Linked DNA regions of Homo sapiens: all the other regions are linked to region 1. The links are contacts of gene promoters, found by promoter capture Hi-C in blood cells and fetal thymus (Javierre and others, 2016). All regions are on one chromosome and are shown on one strand. Each heading gives the region's core, a stretch centred on a gene start or on the middle of the fragment in contact. The rest is flanking DNA. Distances are from core to core; before and after follow the strand shown.

What was found. Contacts are between HindIII fragments. The CHiCAGO score rates a contact against its expected background, and 5 or more counts as called.
Region 2: a contact is called between a fragment that was not itself captured here and the fragment with the promoter of SEL1L3 in region 1, in 1 of 17 cell types (total B cells). The highest score is 5.0, in total B cells.
Region 3: a fragment that was not itself captured here is called in contact with the fragment with the promoter of SEL1L3 in region 1 in 4 of 17 cell types (activated CD4 T cells, naive CD8 T cells, erythroblasts and 1 more); the score reaches 7.5 in activated CD4 T cells.

The regions. Positions count from the first base shown.
Region 1 is chr4:25,860,996-25,864,724 of GRCh38, reverse strand. It overlaps SEL1L3 (SEL1L family member 3), which reads left to right and starts at 1,737. Exons shown (of 24, transcript NM_015187.5): 1 at 1,737-2,050. The coding sequence starts at 1,889. It overlaps LOC102723733 (a long non-coding RNA gene), which reads right to left and starts at 3,598. Exons shown (of 2, transcript XR_427503.5): 1 at 2,572-3,598. RefSeq lists silencers at 1,504-1,663, 1,714-2,173, 2,444-2,738. The HindIII fragment of the contact is 3,672 bases long and covers 565-3,729 here.
Region 2 is chr4:26,884,453-26,888,181 of GRCh38, reverse strand. All of the region lies in intron 1 of STIM2 (stromal interaction molecule 2), which reads right to left. Among named protein-coding and RNA genes, the nearest start is that of STIM2, 25 kb to the right of the region's middle. The HindIII fragment of the contact is 996 bases long and covers 1,982-2,977 here.
Region 3 is chr4:26,865,643-26,869,371 of GRCh38, reverse strand. All of the region lies in intron 1 of STIM2 (stromal interaction molecule 2), which reads right to left. Among named protein-coding and RNA genes, the nearest start is that of STIM2, 6.7 kb to the right of the region's middle. The HindIII fragment of the contact is 1,158 bases long and covers 1,877-3,034 here.

The sequences.
Region 1 (3,729 bases), core at 488-2,987:
ATAGTGGGAGCATCTGTCAAAACCCCCAAAATGCTTTAATGTGGTGGCAGCTGGCTGGGAGGAGCAGGAGCCCAGTTCCCTAAAAGCCAATAGTTCTGGAAATGGAGGAGGGCTGTTTGAACCAGCGCGTTAACATCACCCAGGAGCTTGTTAGAAAGGTACATTCTCAAGTCCCTCCCAGGACCAACTGAGTCAGAAATTCTAGGGCTGAAGTCCAGGAATCTGTGTTTTAACAATCCCTCCAGGTAATTCTGAAGTTTGAGAACCGGTGGAATAAGGCCAGGGAACTCACACAAGGCCACAGCTCTTAGGTGACCTAAAAAAAAGTGGACGACAGCTGAGGAGCCACCATGCCTGGTGTGGCCAGGCCTGTACTGAAGCAGCTGAGGGCGCGTCCACGCCCGTCAAACCATCCCGGGCACCCCGTCTCACCACCAGCCTCTCCCCGACGTCTGTTGTGACTTGACCTATGCTCGTGGCACAGGGAAAGGGCTGTGGCCTCTCAGGCTCCCAGGCTATTATTAGTTCCAATCCGCACAAATCTACCAGTGCTAAAGGGAAGCTTCTGCGAACTTTGGAAGGTGGATTAACTGTTTCAGAGCAGCAGCTGCGGGCCCAGATAGTTGTCGGAGCCGCTAGACACAGCCAAGCGCTTCCCTGAAAGCCAAGGCCGGCGGCGAGCTGGTGGTCCCGCCGGCCGGAGGCCCCTCCCCGCCAGGCCGCAGAACCCGGGTCGGAGAGCAGCCAGTCTCAACCTGCGTCCCCAAGGCCGAGGATGTGTCCTGGTTTTTTAAAAAGCTGTTTGCGCACTTCCAGGGCCTCACCCCTTTCATTTGGGGCTCCAGTATTACTGTATTGACCTAATTAATTCATTTTTTTCTCAGTCCAAAGTGGAAGCCGGAGCACAGGGATGCAAATCAAATACAAACCCGTCCTGGGTGCCAATACTCTGGACAATTAAAACAAAGAGCGCAGTGGTGGCGGTGGCGGCGGCACCACACAAAACCCTCGGGAAACATCCAGAACGTGCCGCGAACCAGCCGGCAGGGTGGGGCGCAGCCCGGCTGCAAACATGCCAGCAAGGAGGCAGTCCCAACCCCGCAGGTGGACAGGTGGAGGTTGGCAGGGGTCAAAATCCATCCTGAAGGCCTGGGAGCCGGGCAGCTGCGCGGCACAACTCCAGGGGGCACACTCGCCCTGCGCCCTGCGGGAATGGCGCCCCGGCCAAAAAAGCAACCAGACAAAAACCCATTGCACGGGCGGGAACTGGTCTGTGCGACCCGCAAAAGGGGTGGGTGGGAGAGGAAGAATGCGGAAGCGAGGAAGAGGATGGGAAGGGAGAAAGAGGAAAGGGAGGAAAAGGAGAAAGTGAAAAAGAGAGGGGGTTTGGGAGCGCGAGGGGAGAAGGAAGAGGGAGCCGGAGGGAGAGGAGGGGGATCGCAGAGAGCAGGAGCGCGGAAGGGGGGCGGGGGAGGAGCAGAGAGAAAGGGAAAGGGGGGTGCGCCGGGGCCCAGCGACCCGGGCGGGGGGTGGCGGCGGCCAAGGGGCGGGACCCGGGTCGGTGCCCACCTGCGTGGGCGCCCGCTGCTCCGAGGGGTGGAAGCCCGGGGGCCAGAGGGAGCGGCCGGGAGGAGGGCTGGGCAGGGAGGCAGAGGGGAGGGAGGGGACGGGGACGGGGAGGCGGGGAGGAGCCGGCGCTCGGCTGGGGCTGCGGGGGCGGCGACGGCGGGAGCGGCAGTGGCGGCGGCGGCGGGTCCGGAGGTGGCGGCAGGTGGCCCCGCGCGCGGCGGCCGGCCCGGCCGGGGGCGGGCGGGAAGGTGGCGCCTCGGGCGGGGGCCGGTCCCTGCACCAGGTGACCTGTTCCGGCCCGGATCCGGGCGGCCTCGCCATGCAGCGGCGCGGCGCGGGGCTCGGGTGGCCGCGGCAGCAGCAGCAGCAACCCCCGCCGCTCGCGGTCGGCCCCCGGGCCGCAGCCATGGTCCCGAGTGGCGGCGTCCCCCAGGGCCTCGGCGGCCGCTCTGCCTGCGCGCTGCTCCTGCTCTGCTACCTGGTGAGCGCCGGACCCTGCCCGGGTCTTCCCCTCCGCGCGGGGCCCCGGGGACGCGGGTGGGGGCGGCCGGGGACACCCGCCACGCGGGGCGGGGACGCCGCTGCTAGTTTTCTCTCTTCCTCGTCGCTGCGCCCCGGGCGTTCCCGGCACCTGGGATAGGTACCCCGGGCGTGGAGAGGGGCGCTTGGACCGGACTTGCCAAGCTGCTCTCTCGCTCGTGCTCATTCCTTTCCCTCCTGGACTCTCTCTAGACCCGGGTCGGGTTACCCTCGAGACCCCTTCTTGTCCTCGACTCCACCCGGGAGCCTCGCCGCCCGGAGTTCGCTCCCCGCCCCGCCGCGCGCAGTCTCCAGCACCCCCCAACCCCCCACCCCTCCTGGGCTTCCCTCTCAATCTTCTCGCAGCTCCTTTCCTTCCCGTGCCCAACTTCGCCTCTTACTCTCGGCGCCCGCCACCCGCGTCGACCCTCCTTTTAGTTTCCACCGGGTCCTCCCGGCCCGGACAGTTTTCTGCCAACGCACCTCGCATCTCCAGCGCTCTTCAACTCCTCCTTGGTCACTCCAGCCAAGTTGCGGATGCCGGAAAGAAATCTAGTTCTCTGTAACACGCTTACCGCCAGAGTGGTGACTTTAGCTGCGTCTTGAACATTGTCATTTCAGAGAATATGTTTGGCTCATGCATGTCAGTTTGCAATTTGCACACTTCTTGGCTTCTGTTTTAGTCATCAACTAAAGGGCAGTAACCTATTTTTCAAAACCCATTTATTTTAAATACCAGAGTAGCTGAGACCCCTCAGAACAAAGTGGGGAGAAATTTTCTCAGTTCCTTTGAGGGCTTGCTTGCTTCTGTTTTGAGTTCTCCTAAACAATAGTAAATTTACAGAAGGCGACACCCTTCCTGCCCAGAGTAACTTATGTTCCACAATCCTGCAGAAACCTTGGGTTATCTCGCCATATATTACTGTAAATAAATGAAATGGAAAATGCTGAATCATGAAACTGATGTAATAGGAAATTCACAGAATGCCAAAAAAAAAAAAAAAAAGAGCAGTGTCATTGTCCAGAATTCATTTCACTTATGTGGCATTGTCATTATTTGGAGTCTTTCTTTTTGGAAGCTAAAAACTGCTTAGGAGATACTGGCAGAAATTAGAATTTGATTCTGAAGAAATTTGCCACTCAGCCCGTTTCTTTTAACGTTTTTTACTTCTTGAATGTTTCATTTCTTGAAGCAAGAAGGTGTAAAAATGCAAATTATAATTCTGCCTGTGCATCTACCTGTTGAGCAATCCGTGCTTTTACTCATATTTCAGAATTAGCCAATATCAAATTGTGTGGTTGGGCTTACTTCATATTTTCATAAGAAGTTGTCAGTTAACATGAATGATATTTTTTTGCCCAAGAGATATTATTATTTAATATTTATGCCACAAGGTTACAACACACAGGCTCATAAATAAAACTGCCATAACAAATGACAAGATTTCAGTTTAAACAGATGATCCCTGTACACAGGGCCCTGCTGGCTACCCACAGAAGCAGAAGTGATGTAGTAGAGTGTTGCGTGAAACATTCATATACAAATGGGCCGGGCCGAAAAGTTCCACGTGGACATCTCAAGACCTGGCAAGGAGGGGGACTACTTCTGGACAGTTCAGGAAGTCAGAGTCAGGAGAGCAA
Region 2 (3,729 bases), core at 1,230-3,729, 1.0 Mb before region 1:
TTATGTATCAACTTGTCTAAACTATAGTATCCAGTTATTCAATCAAACACTAACCTGGGTGCTACTGTGATGGTATTTTGTAAACACAGTTAACATCTACAATCAGTTGACTTTAAGCAAAGGAAATTATTCTTGGAAATGTGGGTGGGCCTGATCCAATCAGCAGGAAAGCCTTTTCTGAGAAAGAAATATTCTGCCCCACGACTGCAGCATCATCGCCTGCCCAAGAGTTTCCAATCTGCCAGCCTATCCTATGGATTTTGGATTTGGATTTGGATCTTTTCAATTACCTCAGCCAATTCCTTGAAATAAGTCTCTATGTTTTACCTATGTCTATCTATGTAGATATGTAGATACATGTATAAAACAATTAATTATTTTAAGTTACATCTTTGAGTATTTTAAGTGCAACTAAATAATTGGTAATATAATTACAGATATGCACTATATAAAATTATATTATTAATTTGTAATAATGAACATATACATTCATTCCTTCTGGTTCTATTTCTGTACAGAACCCTAATACAGGGTCTTTTAAAACATTAAGAGAAAAAATAGCCACTCTTTGCTTCAAAGGATACATCTAGAACCCAAAGAAAGTACTGAAAGATTTTAGTTTAATGCAACAAAGAACTTCTCACAAACCAGAACTGCCTACTAATGGAAAAGTTGTTCAGGAGCAATAAGTTCCCAACCACCCAAAGTATCTGAGGAGCTAATGAATGACAGTCTATAAGGGATACACCGGAGAAGTTCCTGTAATTAGCAGACAGTTTGAGCTTTAGGCTTTGTCCACTTCCTTGAGTTCAATCAAAGTCTGTAATTCTGTAACAGCACGGTGTGATCTTAGATTATTAGCAAGATACATCTTAACCCAAGTAGAAAATGAAAGCAACATCAAACAAAACAGTAAAGAAAAAAAGCTCAAATAAATTCTAAGTTTTAAAGGGATCACGGACAAGGCAAGAGGCAAAAAAAAAAAAAAAAAAAAAAAAGTTTAATTATTTGGTTTGGTGCTTATTGTATCTTGTAACATTCAGCAGTTGAACACTACGGGTTGTTCCAATTTCCTAGCTCTTTAAATTATATCCTATAAAGGCATAAGCTTTTATGTCTTTACTTCACAATAAAGTTCATATAACAATGAACTTGATTTTCAGGACAACAGAACAGAAGGGCTTTCACTGTATTTAGCATCCACATATAGCTCCACCTATACCACCTATTACCACCTCCATAGCTAACAAGGGAGCTCTAGCACTTTCTCTCCCCGGACAAAAGCCTACTAATTGGTCTCCCTGCTCTAAGACTAGACCTTCTAGAGTGTCATTTCAGTGAAAGAGCTGAAGTGATCATTTCCAAACATAAATCAAATCATGTCACACTTCTCAAAAACCCTGCAGTAGCTCCCCATCTCAGAGTACATGACATACAATGACAATGTCCTCACATCTTGTAGATGATGTCTACAAGACTGTACATTCTAGCCCAGACAACCTCTCTGATCTATCTATTACTCTCTCCATTGCTTACTCTACACCAGCCCTGTGGTCTCCTGGAAGTTTCTCCAAAAATCCAACAATGGTATCCATCAGGGCCCATGCACATGCCATTCTCTCCACCTGAAGGGTCTCATCCCTCTGTCTCTCCCTTCTCTCTTGTCAAATGTCAACTATGAAGATTTCCCTGACCACCTTAAATAACAGCAAACACACATATACTTTCCCTAACATTCTCTACCTTCTCACCTATTTTATTTTCCTTCATTGCATTTATCATCTCCTGATAAATATTTGTCTACTTGTTAACTGTCTTATCCTCAGTGAAATTAAGCTCATCGTTTTCTTCATTGCTCCAATACCTACAACAATATCTGTAAGTGTTCAATGAGTATATATTGAAATAATATATTAGCCTTAAGCTAAAATTTCAAACAATCTTCTCAGTTATATGAATATGCTCCTACACAGAAAAAGCTTTAAGAAGGAAAAAGTTCATATACTGTCCTAGTTCTCCTTGCATCCTTCTCACTGATTTGGTTTTACAGAGAATATGAAAGTAAATGTTCTGCCCGTCACAGTTCTCCTCTGTTCCACTGAACCTCAAATTATGAGCTCACATAGCCACAACTTCCTTGTTTGTCAAATAAGAGGAACTGGCGCATGGTGATCAGCTTCTTAAAACTCAAGTATCTAAAAATCAGATTTAAAATAAGGTTTATATGTAATTTTCAATAAGCCATAATGGAATGTCTCAGTAATTAGGATAAATCAACACTGCATATTTACATGAATAGACATATACATATATATATATATATATATATATATATATATATATATATATATATATATATAACCTGAGGTGCTAAATTTGGCTTCATTCTCATAATACAACTAGCACTGAATGCTATATTTTCAGTTTTACTGCTCTTATAAACTACATAGCCTGGTAACCAAGGTAAACAATTTGTATATCTGAAAGTTACATTCTGAATTCACCCAGGCAAAACATAAACCTGAAAAAATAGTCAGAAATGAAAACTATGTCACAAATATCACACATTAAAATCCTACATGCTTTAGTTAAAGGAGGATCCTTCATACCATCAAGATTTACAATTCAAGCCTTGATACCCCTATTTTCCAGTCTTAGCAGATACCAAAAAATAAAATGACAGCTGTCCAGTAAATAAGCTGATACAATCATATGCTGATGACTCCATTTATTCACATTCAAAAATAGGGAAGCAAATCTATGGTATTAAAGTAAGGACAGTGGTTAACCTTAGGCAAAGGCACATACTGATTTCAAGAGGACATGAAGGACTTCTGGGTAAAGGCAACATTATGTTTCTCGATCTGGGTGCTAATAACATGTGAGTATTCACTTTGTTAAAAATGGTTGAAATGAGCTGTATACTGATGATTTGAGCCCTTTCCTGTACTGTTATACTGTATTTAAGTAAAAAGCTTTTGGAAAACTAGATATTACAGCAATTCAAAACCATGAAAAATAAGGTTGAACATGAACAGTGGAACACAAATCAACAATCCTTAAGAGTATCTGTGTTTTTGCATGTGTACTAACCCTAATATTGTACCCATTAACTGTACCCAATACATTCTGATTAAGAAAGTAGAGAAATAAGTCACACGTTTTAGAAATAATTTGACTCCAAAATGTTTGAAATAAAGCAAGTTTTATAATTCAAAGGAGTCAAGGTTCAATTACTCAAGAGGCAAGAGTACTGGTTAAGGATGTGAATCTTGTTGTGAGAATTCTGTCTCACCCACTTGCCAGTTCTGTGAACTCGTGTTTAACCTCTCTGGGTCTCCGTTACATTACCTATAAGATACGGATCTACCCCATAAGCTTGTGAGGACTAAATGAGTTATTTCATGTGAAGCATTCAGAACAGTTGCCTGATATACGTAAGTACTCAATAAATGGCTGTTCACTCATGTGGGATACTTAATCCCCCAATGGTGCTAAATAAACAGGGTGTTTCTACTACAGCCAACTGACAGATGAACACTGAAATGCAAAGAGCCCCTTCTTAAAATAGCTTGTACATTACCCTGCCTATACAACGACACAATTTCCTGTTAGTTTTCTTTATATTTAAATTTCCTAAAGCAGTTGCAGTAGAAGCAGTAAGTCACACTCCAGCCCTATTCTGGTTCTTTTCTAAACCTTTATTACAAACAGGTTTAAGAATTAAAT
Region 3 (3,729 bases), core at 1,206-3,705, 1.0 Mb before region 1:
TTTTAGGACCCATATGTAACAGACCTAGAACCAAACAAACTTTTTTCTTCCTTTTTTTTTTTTTTTTTTTTTGGAGACAGGGTCTCACTCCGCCGTCCAGGCCAGAGTGCAGTGGCCTGATCAGGGCTTGCTGCAGACTTAACTTCCCCCAGGCTCAGGTGATTCTCCCATTTCAGCCTCCTGAGTAGCCAGGAATACAGGCGCACATCATCACGCCCAGCTAATTTTTTTGTATTTTTTGAGGAGATGGGATTTCACCGTGTTGCCCAGACTGGTCTCGAAGTCCTGGGCTCAAGTGATCTGCCCATCTTGGCCTCGAAAAGTGCTGGGATTACAGGCATAAGCTACAGCGTACGACCCCAAACAAACACGGAATAAACATCAGAGGGTATAGTTACAAATGCAAATTCAAAAATAGCCAGGGGTACCTATAATTGCACTTTAGCTTTTCTTTCTTAATGTGGTACCCAGAAGAAAGAAACGGCGAGGATTAATACAGTCTGAATATGTGTGGCAAAGCAGAAATAAGAGCTAAACATGACAATGGTTCAAGGCATCAGGGAAACAGAGCAAAAATTACATACACGTCATTAATGAAAACGTTAGAGATGTATTGCTGGACAATAGGAATAAAGAAGGGGGATTAAGATTATCTAGTTATCCAACATCAGATTTTTTAAAAAAGAAAAAAAAGACAGTAATAGAAAACATGGGCCTGTGCAACTTGCAGTGTGCTGAGTAGGAGACAAAAACTTCAAACAAGGGTTTAAAAAGCCTTTTTACTTATTGAGAATATTGTAAGAAACTACAAATCACTTTCACTACCCTAGGGGGTTTTGATGAGGCTGCTTATGATAAGGCTGTTTAGTATTCTGTAATCACATAAATGAGATATTCATTTCAAGCATTTTTTAAATTAAAATCCCAGCACTTAATTAAACAAAACAGTTTTTGAGGTGTTTCAGTTCCATATAATGTCAAGTTTAGGAAGATCAAAAAGAGGTAGAGAAAATGAAAATGACTAGAGAAAAAAGTTACACAGAGGTCAAGATCCATAAGCACACAAAAAAACAAATCCATACGCAAAAAGAAACACTTGGACAGATACAGGTACTTGGGCTCTGAGATGAATGTTAGTCCAAGTAAACTGCGCTTGCCAGGCTCTGTGGCTCCAATCAGCCTGTGTGTACTGGAGGGGAGTTACCACTATCTTATGAAAACACTGAATAGACATTATTAAACATTCTGCAACTGCTCCTAGCCTTAATCCTGAAATTGTTTCACTTTAAAGGATATGGCTGACAAAGCCTAGTAGAAAGGAAATTACTCTCGGGACTGCAGCCATGATGCTTGTGCTATAGCACACCAAGGGCCAAAGGAAATAAAGCCAAAAATCAAATCAATCATTGGCCTGGGGTTCCCTACCCCCAATTTAGAACTTTCCTAGTAATGAAGTTCTCTGAGGAGGAAATGTTCAGCTAGACTAGAGGAAGAGGAGGCTGAGAACAGAGACTTAAGAGGGAACCACCCTTAAAATCAGCAACAATGAAACCAGTCAAGGAAAACAGTTACAGAAGGTAGAATTAGACAGTGTCAAGAAAGACTGAATATCCAATGTATACTAATATAAAGATCTAGATAGCTAAAGAACAGAACAAACCTTTTAGATTTGGCATTAGAAATCATCATCTATAGATTAAGCTTGAAATTCACACAACAATGAAATTTAGGAGTTAATATTGAAACAAGTAATATGCCAGTAGTCTGAAATATTGTTATTCATAGCTAAGGGGTCGGAGAGACTTCGACTCTTGACTTATAACTTTAGTTTAATCTGGAAACACTTATCCTTTTTATACATGGAATTCTAAAAGCTTTATATAAGCATTTTATGGCAAATATATTGTCTTTGGATATCAAAAGTTGTTTGGTTTTATTTGTCAAACAACTGGCAAATACATTTGCAACTGTTTTTCTGTCGACAACTTTGTAAATCATCACATAAGCCCGATTATATTTTTTTAAAAACTAATCTTTATATTAAGAAATAGGCACATTTGAAATAAAGAAGATTCTCTATCACAAATAGTGTGTTTCTTCTTGGATTTTTCAAGGGCTTATACTAATTTAAATCATTCTATAAATTCTGTATGCTTAATGCTAAAGGTAATTTTTATATCTTAAACTTCATATAAATAGCCAGATTCCTAAGCTAAGAATAAAGTCGATTTTATAAAATTTCATCTAAACATTTTCATAGCCACTCCATAATTAGAATTCTCAAGACCTCTCCTTCTAAATAGTTTCCTAACTGATATCCTTATCTCTGTTATCTCCTCATTGCCATCCACCCAGAATTAGCTTTCTCAAACACAAAGGACATGTCACCCCCATCTTCAAAAACCACAATGCCTCTCACCTCCTAATGACAGGATATAGATTTGCAACTTCAAGAGTTTATTAACAAAACACTCTGAAAGTTCAAAATGCCTTTTACCTTAAAAATTAAAATATATGTACATTTTCCCTAACGTGCATATTTAGAAACCTTCAAATAGTTTTATATCTCTCAAATAATCTAATAAAATGGATATGCCAAGAAAAGGTACCATATTTGTCCTGGATGTCTCATTCTTGCCAGTATACAGCCGAGTACCCCAGTTTTAAATGTGCTGACATTTTGATACATACTGAATACACTAGGGGACTGTAAAGCTCTTGATAATTTGGCCCCAATCTTCTTCCTTCTTGCATTCCCCACTACTCTACATATACCTTATACTTAACTCTAAAGAAAAGTATTTATCCCCTATTCTTGCATATGCCTCCTCCCAGAAAGCCTTTTCACTTATCTCCACAAGAAGTCCTACCTATACATCAAGGTCCAGCTCAAATCCTGCCCTCCTCCAGGTAATACTCTCTAACAGCCTCTTCCTTTCTCCTACACTTTGCAGTCCCTTGTGGTGCTAATCACAATCCATCGCATGTTGTTTGTATAAGGATGCATACAACATACCAGCTAAGAATCCAAGCTTTGGAACCAGAGAAACCCTGGTCAACCTCTAACTCTGCTACCTACTAGAAGTGAGCTTGGGCAAGTTACTTAAGATCATCCAGCATGTTTCCTAATCTACTATATGAAGATAAAGACAGCAACAATAGAAAACTGAGGACTACTTGTGGGGGAGGTAAGAGGAGGGGTAAGGGTTGAAAAACTATTGAACTATTGAGTACTATGCTCAGTACCTGGGTGACAAGATCGTTGGTAACTAAAATCTCAATATCATGCAATAAACCCAGGCAATGAACCTGCATATGAATCTAAAATAAAAGTTGGAATCTAAAATGAATCTAAAATAAAAGTTAGAAGGAAAAAAAAAAACAGTAGCTATCTAACAGGATTAGTCTCAGAATCAAAAACAGTGATGTATAATATAAAAAGCACTTAGCACAATACTAACACATAGGAACAGTTTAATAAATGTGCCTATTATTACCTAGTCTGAGTCCAAAATGGTCACACCTACATCTTATTCTTTTTTTTAATTCTTTCCCACTTCTCTTTTGTGTTATGCTGCTTGTACTTAATAATTATTTAGTTAATAAAATCTGATCAATTCAGAAGTAAATTCCTAGGTAGATCTTAACAAGGTGAAGTCCAAACTCCAGTAAATGTCAAAAAATGGCTTATTATCCATATTATTAGCAGTTAGTTTTAGTATTAGCTTA